2 separate regions of the Homo sapiens genome follow, and region 2 is linked to region 1. The links are contacts of gene promoters, found by promoter capture Hi-C in blood cells and fetal thymus (Javierre and others, 2016). All regions are on one chromosome and are shown on one strand. Each heading gives the region's core, a stretch centred on a gene start or on the middle of the fragment in contact. The rest is flanking DNA. Distances are from core to core; before and after follow the strand shown.

Evidence for each region. The method cuts DNA at HindIII sites, captures the fragments that hold promoters and counts their contacts. A CHiCAGO score of 5 or more calls a contact.
Region 2: a fragment that was not itself captured here is called in contact with the fragment with the promoter of ADO in region 1 in 1 of 17 cell types (neutrophils); the score reaches 6.0 in neutrophils.

What each region holds. Positions count from the first base shown.
Region 1 is chr10:62,803,080-62,806,281 of GRCh38, reverse strand. ADO (2-aminoethanethiol dioxygenase) reads right to left here and starts at 1,562. Exons shown (of 1, transcript NM_032804.6): 1 at 1-1,562. The coding sequence starts at 1,222. The coding sequence ends at 410. RefSeq lists enhancers at 958-1,077, 1,548-1,807 and a silencer at 1,258-1,507. The HindIII fragment of the contact is 5,397 bases long and covers 1-3,173 here.
Region 2 is chr10:62,049,912-62,053,408 of GRCh38, reverse strand. It overlaps ARID5B (AT-rich interaction domain 5B), which reads right to left. Exons shown (of 10, transcript NM_032199.3): 5 at 2,409-2,521. Among named protein-coding and RNA genes, the nearest start is that of ARID5B, 150 kb to the right of the region's middle. RefSeq lists an enhancer at 1,727-2,926. The HindIII fragment of the contact is 5,648 bases long and covers 1-3,497 here.

The DNA of each region.
Region 1 (3,202 bases), core at 313-2,812:
GAAAAAAAGGCATAAGGGCATGAGTGGAAAATAAACCCTATTTAACTAAGGGGTAGGGAGTGGGAGCAAGAAAACCACTTAGTATTTTGTATAGAATGGGGAAGAGAGGAAGATATTTTCATTATGGCTTTAGGATGGAAGCGCTTCAGATAGTCCCCTGCCCCATTCCTCCAAATCAAAGCCCCAGTGGCAGTGACAGTACCAGGAAACAATCTAGCCTCCCCGCCCACCCCGCCCCCATAACCGTGCCCGGCGGCTGCTGTCCAGTCGCCCGTGCTTCCCAAGGCTGCCGAGGAAGCGGCTGCTGCTCATTCCAGTAGATCCAACGCCCAGGCTAGGGGGTAGAGACACAGCCCTTGTGGTAGGGTAGGGCACGTCTTCGGCCCACCGCTCCTGGGCGCCAGTGGCTTCAAGGGAAGACCTTGGGACCTGGATAGGGTTCTCCCTCGCACCAGAAGTCATCGGCCTGTGGGGTCTCCAGGAGCCACACCTCTCGAGGCAGGTCACAGGCCGAGCTGGAGGCCTCCTTGGGCCTGACCGGCTCCAGCACCCGGTAATAGTGGCAGTCCCGGCCATCGTCCGGGTCGTAGGGCGGGGCCAGGATGTCCAGGAAGGCGGCAGGCCCTTCCACGGCGTCGATCTGGTGCAGGTTGTCCCGGTGCGGTGTGAGGATGCAGGGGCCGCTGGCCTCGGTGTACTCGGCCCGCGAACGCAGCACGCCCGGCCGCACGGCTTCTCGCTCCCGGGGCTGCAGCGGCGGCTCGAACTGCTGCTCGGGCGGCAAGGCCCGCGGCCGTTGCCCGCCGCCCGCGTCTAGCTTGTCCATGCAGCTGATGCGCACGGTGCCGTACAGCACCTTGAGCATGCCGTGCATGCCCGGGTGGTCGTGCAGCGGGATGGACGTGCCGCTCTTGAGCAGGAACACGCCCAGGCTGAAGCCGTCCGTCTCGTAGATGTGCATGTAGGTGACTGGCGGCAGGTTGGGCGGCAGCGGCTGCAGTGTGGCCTTGCGCGGGGCGATGTTCAAGTCCTCGGCGCGGAGCTGGGTCAGGAGGCTCTTCAGCTTGCTCAGGTTCTCGGGGAAGCCCGGCTGCATCGGCGCCTCCGGGCCAGAAGCCGCGTCGCGATCGGAAGCGCCGCGGCCGCCCCCGCTGCCCCGGAAGGTGAGGCAAGCCTGGCGGGCGATCCGTTGGATCAAGGAGGCCATGTTGTCTCGGGGCATGGTCGGCTGCTCCTCTGCGTGCCGGGACCGGCCCCCTCCTTTCCTCCGCCCCTTGCGGTCCCCGGCGGCCGCCACGGCTGCCCCCAGCCCGGGTCGAGGCGGGAGGCCCCGCAACCACCGGCCCGTCGGGCGCGCGGCACCGCCGCCAACCTCAGCAGCCACGCGCCCGCAACTGCCCGGCGCGCTCGCCTTGAGCCCCCTCTGAGCGCGCACGCGCACGCCCCACACCCCGCACTCACGCTCCGGGAGCAGATAGCGGCCGCGCAGACGGTGCCAGGCTTTGCCTTACGCCCGGCGCTCCATTCATGCGGCCCGCACCTACGACGGTGGCCGGGCGCCCGGGGACCCTGCGGAGCATGCCGGGACTTGTAGTCCGGCCTTCCGCTTGAGCTCTGAGATAGTTCAGTTTGTTGATTGGAAAATAGAGGAACTATTACACATGTTGGGCATAAAGCGATCTTTTTCAGGATGCAGAGGTGTTTTTCTTGTTTTAGAAAAGATGAATCGGGGTGGAAGATTAGTAGCCACTTGACTACAACTCCCGGCACTCCCCGCAGGGTGGAGTGACGCACTTCCGTCAGCTGGCCCCCGGAGTAGTGGAGGCTCTTGGCCTTCATAAGGAAAGGGGCAGGGAGGGTCGTTAACCTTCTGGCGCCGCGCTGGGGCCTGGTTAGCCATGCAGGGTCGCCTTCCTTTGGCCTTGCCCCTGGGAAGGAGGCTGTTGAGTCAGCCTTAGCTCCTCGTAGCGGCCTAGGCAGCACTGTCTCCCACGGGAATTGCAGGAGGGCGCTTTTATAATTTTGTGTTTCCTAGGAGGGGAGGGGGTCCAGGCCGTCCTCTGTGATCATCAAGGTTACTCGGCCCAGCTGGGCCCAGCTGGGCCCAGCTGTTGTTTGCATCAGGACCTGATGACGCTGCTCTTCTGGTTACAGAGCAGTATAGCTTTTTGCTGGAGAGACTTGAGAGGCCATTTACAGTGGTCGTGGATTCTGAACATACTAGTGGTTATCAAATCTTGGTTTGCCTGAGAAGGGGGAGCGGGCTTTTATAAATGCAGATTCCCTGTCGTCACCCAGAGATGGAGTTACTAGATGGTTCTGAGGCATCCTAGGAGAAATAGTGGTGTGCAACAGTCAGTTCAGTCAGTAATTGTGAAATTGTTTCACTACACAGAGGCATCCTTCTCCTTGGCGTGAACTAACTTTTGGCATAAGTAAATGACTAGAAAAGCAAGACATTAGATACTATGACTTTAAACTTAACCCTGAGTTTAAAGTCTTTTTGGATTCCAAAGCTGAACATGGGTTTCTTGTACATTTTGTAATTGGAGTGGTTCAGTGAATCCTCTCCAGTTAAAATAGGCATACTTTTTAAAGTGGATTACATAACCTGGCTAATGAGTACTCACAATATGCCAGGCACTGTGTTAAGTGCATTATATAATGAATGTTATACTATTTAATCCTTGCAGCAACTCTTAAGAGGCAGGCACTATTATTATTCCCAGATTGCAGATGAGGGAATAAGTTGTAGGATAGTGAATACTAAGTACCCAGCAAAGCATGAGCAGCAGAGCAGAAATAAGTACAGTCTTACCAAAAACAGCAGCTTGAATTGGTGTAAAAGCACCAAACGAGAGTCAGGATATTGTTGTTCCAGCCTACTGTGTGTACTTACAAGCTGTGTGTCGTTAGGCAAATCCTACCCTTTTAGGGCCTCAATTTATTCATTTGTAGAATGCCGGTGTTAAGGGAACAAAAGTTCTGAACCCTACTCATCAGAACCCCCTGGAGAGCTTAAAAAATAAAGATCTTGGGGTCACACCTCAGAGATTTTGATTCAGAAGAACTGGAGTGAAGCCTATTTTTTTGTGTGTGGTTTTTTTTTGTTTGTTTGTTTGTTTGTTTTGAGGGGTAACAAGGTTTATCGTGAAGAGCGAAATAACAAAGCTTCCACAGCTTGGAAGGGGACCACAGCGGG
Region 2 (3,497 bases), core at 556-3,055, 750 kb after region 1:
ATTGAGGGAGTGCAACGTTTTGATGGCGACCGGCAAATCACTTGACTTATTTTTCCAGTCATGAACACAACAAACCCAGTGGGTCCCACTCTAAGAGCTTTGCTGTGTGGAGCTGCATGAAGTTGGTGCTTAGTTAGAAATGGTCTGTTTGAGGCACTTTTAAAAAGAAACAGTCACATGGGTCTTGGTCACAAAGTCAAACAGCTCACTGTCCTCTAAGATGCTGCTTTCAATTCAACAGATGATTAGATGGTCACAGACTCATAATCTCTACTGCAGTGTTTCATGAGAAAAGACCATGTTAAGACACACATGCTTTTTAATGACTGTCCTCATCCCAGATGTGGCTTGTTCATTCTGTAGGGATTTTACATCTGCCTGTTGGTGTCAACAGACAAGCTCGTCACACTTCATACCTACTGATCTTTTTGCTTAAGTGGTCTTGCCAGACCCACTGGAAGCAGCCAAGGCATGACTGTAATCCAAGACTCTGAAAAGAGCCAAGCCATTAGACCAGTCCCTAGGAGCTGACTGCAGCATGACATTCATCTGTTCACCATTGAACACCAACGGTGGAAGAATGATCCATCTCTTTGTAAAGATTCTGACGGGCAGCACTGTTGCGGGGATGGAGTAAAGGCGTCACTTAGAAAACCCAGGACTGACTTCTATCCTTCTTGTTAAGAAGTCAGTGAACATCAAATATGGCCCATCTGTATAGCAGGCTCTTGTTCTTCTCGGCTTTGTGAACCCAACAGTGAGTTCTGAGCTGCCTTCCATGGAAAGAAACATTGGAGGTCTGCTCTTTCAGATCAATTGTATGAGTTCTGTAAAATTCTCAGAAGCAGACCTTGGTGGTGATTCCAAGTGGCATGGGAAGGAGCTTTATCCTGCCGGGCTCAGGTACAGAATATGCTGGAGTAAACAAATGCTGTCAACCAAGAAGGATGGGCTGGGCACCAACAGAAGGCATGGGCAGTACAAGCTCTGCTGAATGTTATGGTCTTGAAACCTTCTTGCGCCATTCTGCAGGATCTTGCAAACTACATAGTAGGGAATGAACTGTTCCTGCTGACATCCTTCAAGACGATGGAAACCAAAGTCCTAGGTAGATAGTTCTAGGGCTGAGGTGTCCAACTTACAAGAAAATGTCATTCATGGCATCCATGTGGAGTTAATTCGCAGAAAGTTAAATGTGCAAAACAACAATAACTTTAGGGAAAGAGATTTGTTTTCAGCAAGAAACTGGAAAATACACATTTCTACTGGTTGATCTCTTCTTAACCCTTTGGAATCTTAGAAGTATGAAGAAATTCTAAGCAAAAAAGTCCTTAAAATTTCCTAATGAAACAATGATGCTTAAAGATAAGATTTTTTAGAATGTGAAAGTCTAAGATTTACTTCATTACACTGGGAAGGAGGTAGAGTACATGGCAGAGAAACAGTAGACTGTCAACACAGAACTTAACTCATGTTTTTTTTTTTCTACATCAGACTCTTCCAAATTCACCACTAATCAAAATGGTCCCATTTTCAGAAGTTTAGTTATTTGATCTGGAAACTGGTGTCAGTTGAAATCTGTTCGTCAACTAAAATCCTAAAGGGACGATTGCTGTCTTTAGCACAAAAATAACACCTAAATGCAGTAAACAGAACCATGGAAATCTGACCCAAGCCCACAAAAGTCAGAAAGGTAAGTCTAAAAATATAAAGTGATACTTTACCCTTTGTCGTGCAAAATACTTCAGGCATGCATGCACTTTCAAGATTCCAAAGAATGCTTAGGTAAAAAATTGACCTGGGTCTTGAACAACAGCGTAGAATTTACTTTCATTCTATGTTAACAGAGATCTTTAAAAGTATATAAATGCTTGTGGGCATATGTATACATCTAAATATTTTGCTATGTATCTTTAATTTTAGTCTAATGTAAATTAGAAGTGACTTTGAAAAATACATAACTAAAAAGATTAATTCTAGCTATTTCTAATTTCATCCTCTGTTAATCTCCAAAACACATTTAGATGAACACATTCAGAAAGAGGACGGTTCAGCTGGTCTATTTTTGACACAAGCAGAGTAAACTATGTCATTGTGTCACCCACTATGAAATCTCAGCCTCAATGACGTGGGTGCTTAATCATCTGTCCTTTACTCATAACAGGCCAAACTGGGAGGTAGGAAGTCTTTCTGTTGACTAATCAAAATGCCTACCTCCCCCAGCCCACGGCAACCAGGGGAAGGGAGGTGGCAGGAACAGGCACAGCATAGAGCTTCAAAAGCTCTGAATACCAAAGTCAGATGCTGAATTGAAAACTGCCTCCAAGACACAGGCACAGAGAGATAAAGAGAAAAAGCAAAAATAAAAAGATGCAACGAAATGAATACCGTGGAGTGAATGACCGTACCTTGGCAACGGCTTTGCCATCGGAATTGTTGTTGGAATCCTTAACACCACTGAATGAATCTCTTCTTTGTGGGCATGGTTTCTTTTTGCGTGGTCTGCCTTTAAGATTTGGCGCTGAAAACAAATGGAAAACAATTGATATACATTTTCACTTGCATGGGTTTCTTTATTAAAGACCCAGAATCTCACTACAGTGATCCCTTCTAATTGTTCAGAGAAATGTACAGATCTGTGGCAGGCAGCCCTCATTATTACATGCTTCTCTCTCTGAAGGCTTGCATATTGGTAGAGTATACATTTCTGTACACGTTTCCCAAAGCTAATCTATTTAGCTTTAACATGTCTAATTAATAGAAGTAACACGAAGCTCTTAGCTCTAAAGGATCATGATAAGAAAAATGTCCTTCCACGTTGTTAGACAAGAAGCATTTGGTGCTGAAAAACTGAGCCAGGCTTTGAGCTCAATCTTTGGTTTTTGTTTTGTATCTTGCTTTCCGAAACCTAAGTGACATGCCTGCCCTTATGGTATCATAGTAATGAAATGTTTGAAAACATCTCTTTTACAAAATATTCAGAGACAAGGGCATTCTCTCAAATTACCATACAGATAAGTAGAGAGATAGCTATAGAGAGAGGGGCATTCACAACAGCAAGCTGGAAAACATTATTACATATATTTACTAACAATACTGCAACCAGCAAGTTTCAAATCTCAACAAATCTGACAGATACATTTAAATCAGCATGCTGTCTTTTCCTTTTCAATATATTTTTATGAAGATCTTAAGGCTTATTTAATATAACATCCAAAGATTACACTGGGGTTAGCCTGATTCCATGGGGGTTACACTTTTGAAAAGACAAGATACAAATCAAAGTTCTATTTCATCCTTGATGCTGAGCTTGTTCCTTTTAAGATCTACACAGAAAGTAGGGGGAAAAGGCTGCTGTTTATTGAGAGCTATGACTATCCGGCATCAGCTTTCACATTTAACTTCATCAGTCACCCAAGTCAAGCAAAATTAAAAACAACCAACTAACCAACCACCCCTAGAATGACTCCAAGCTAATGAATTATACCCTAAACAAT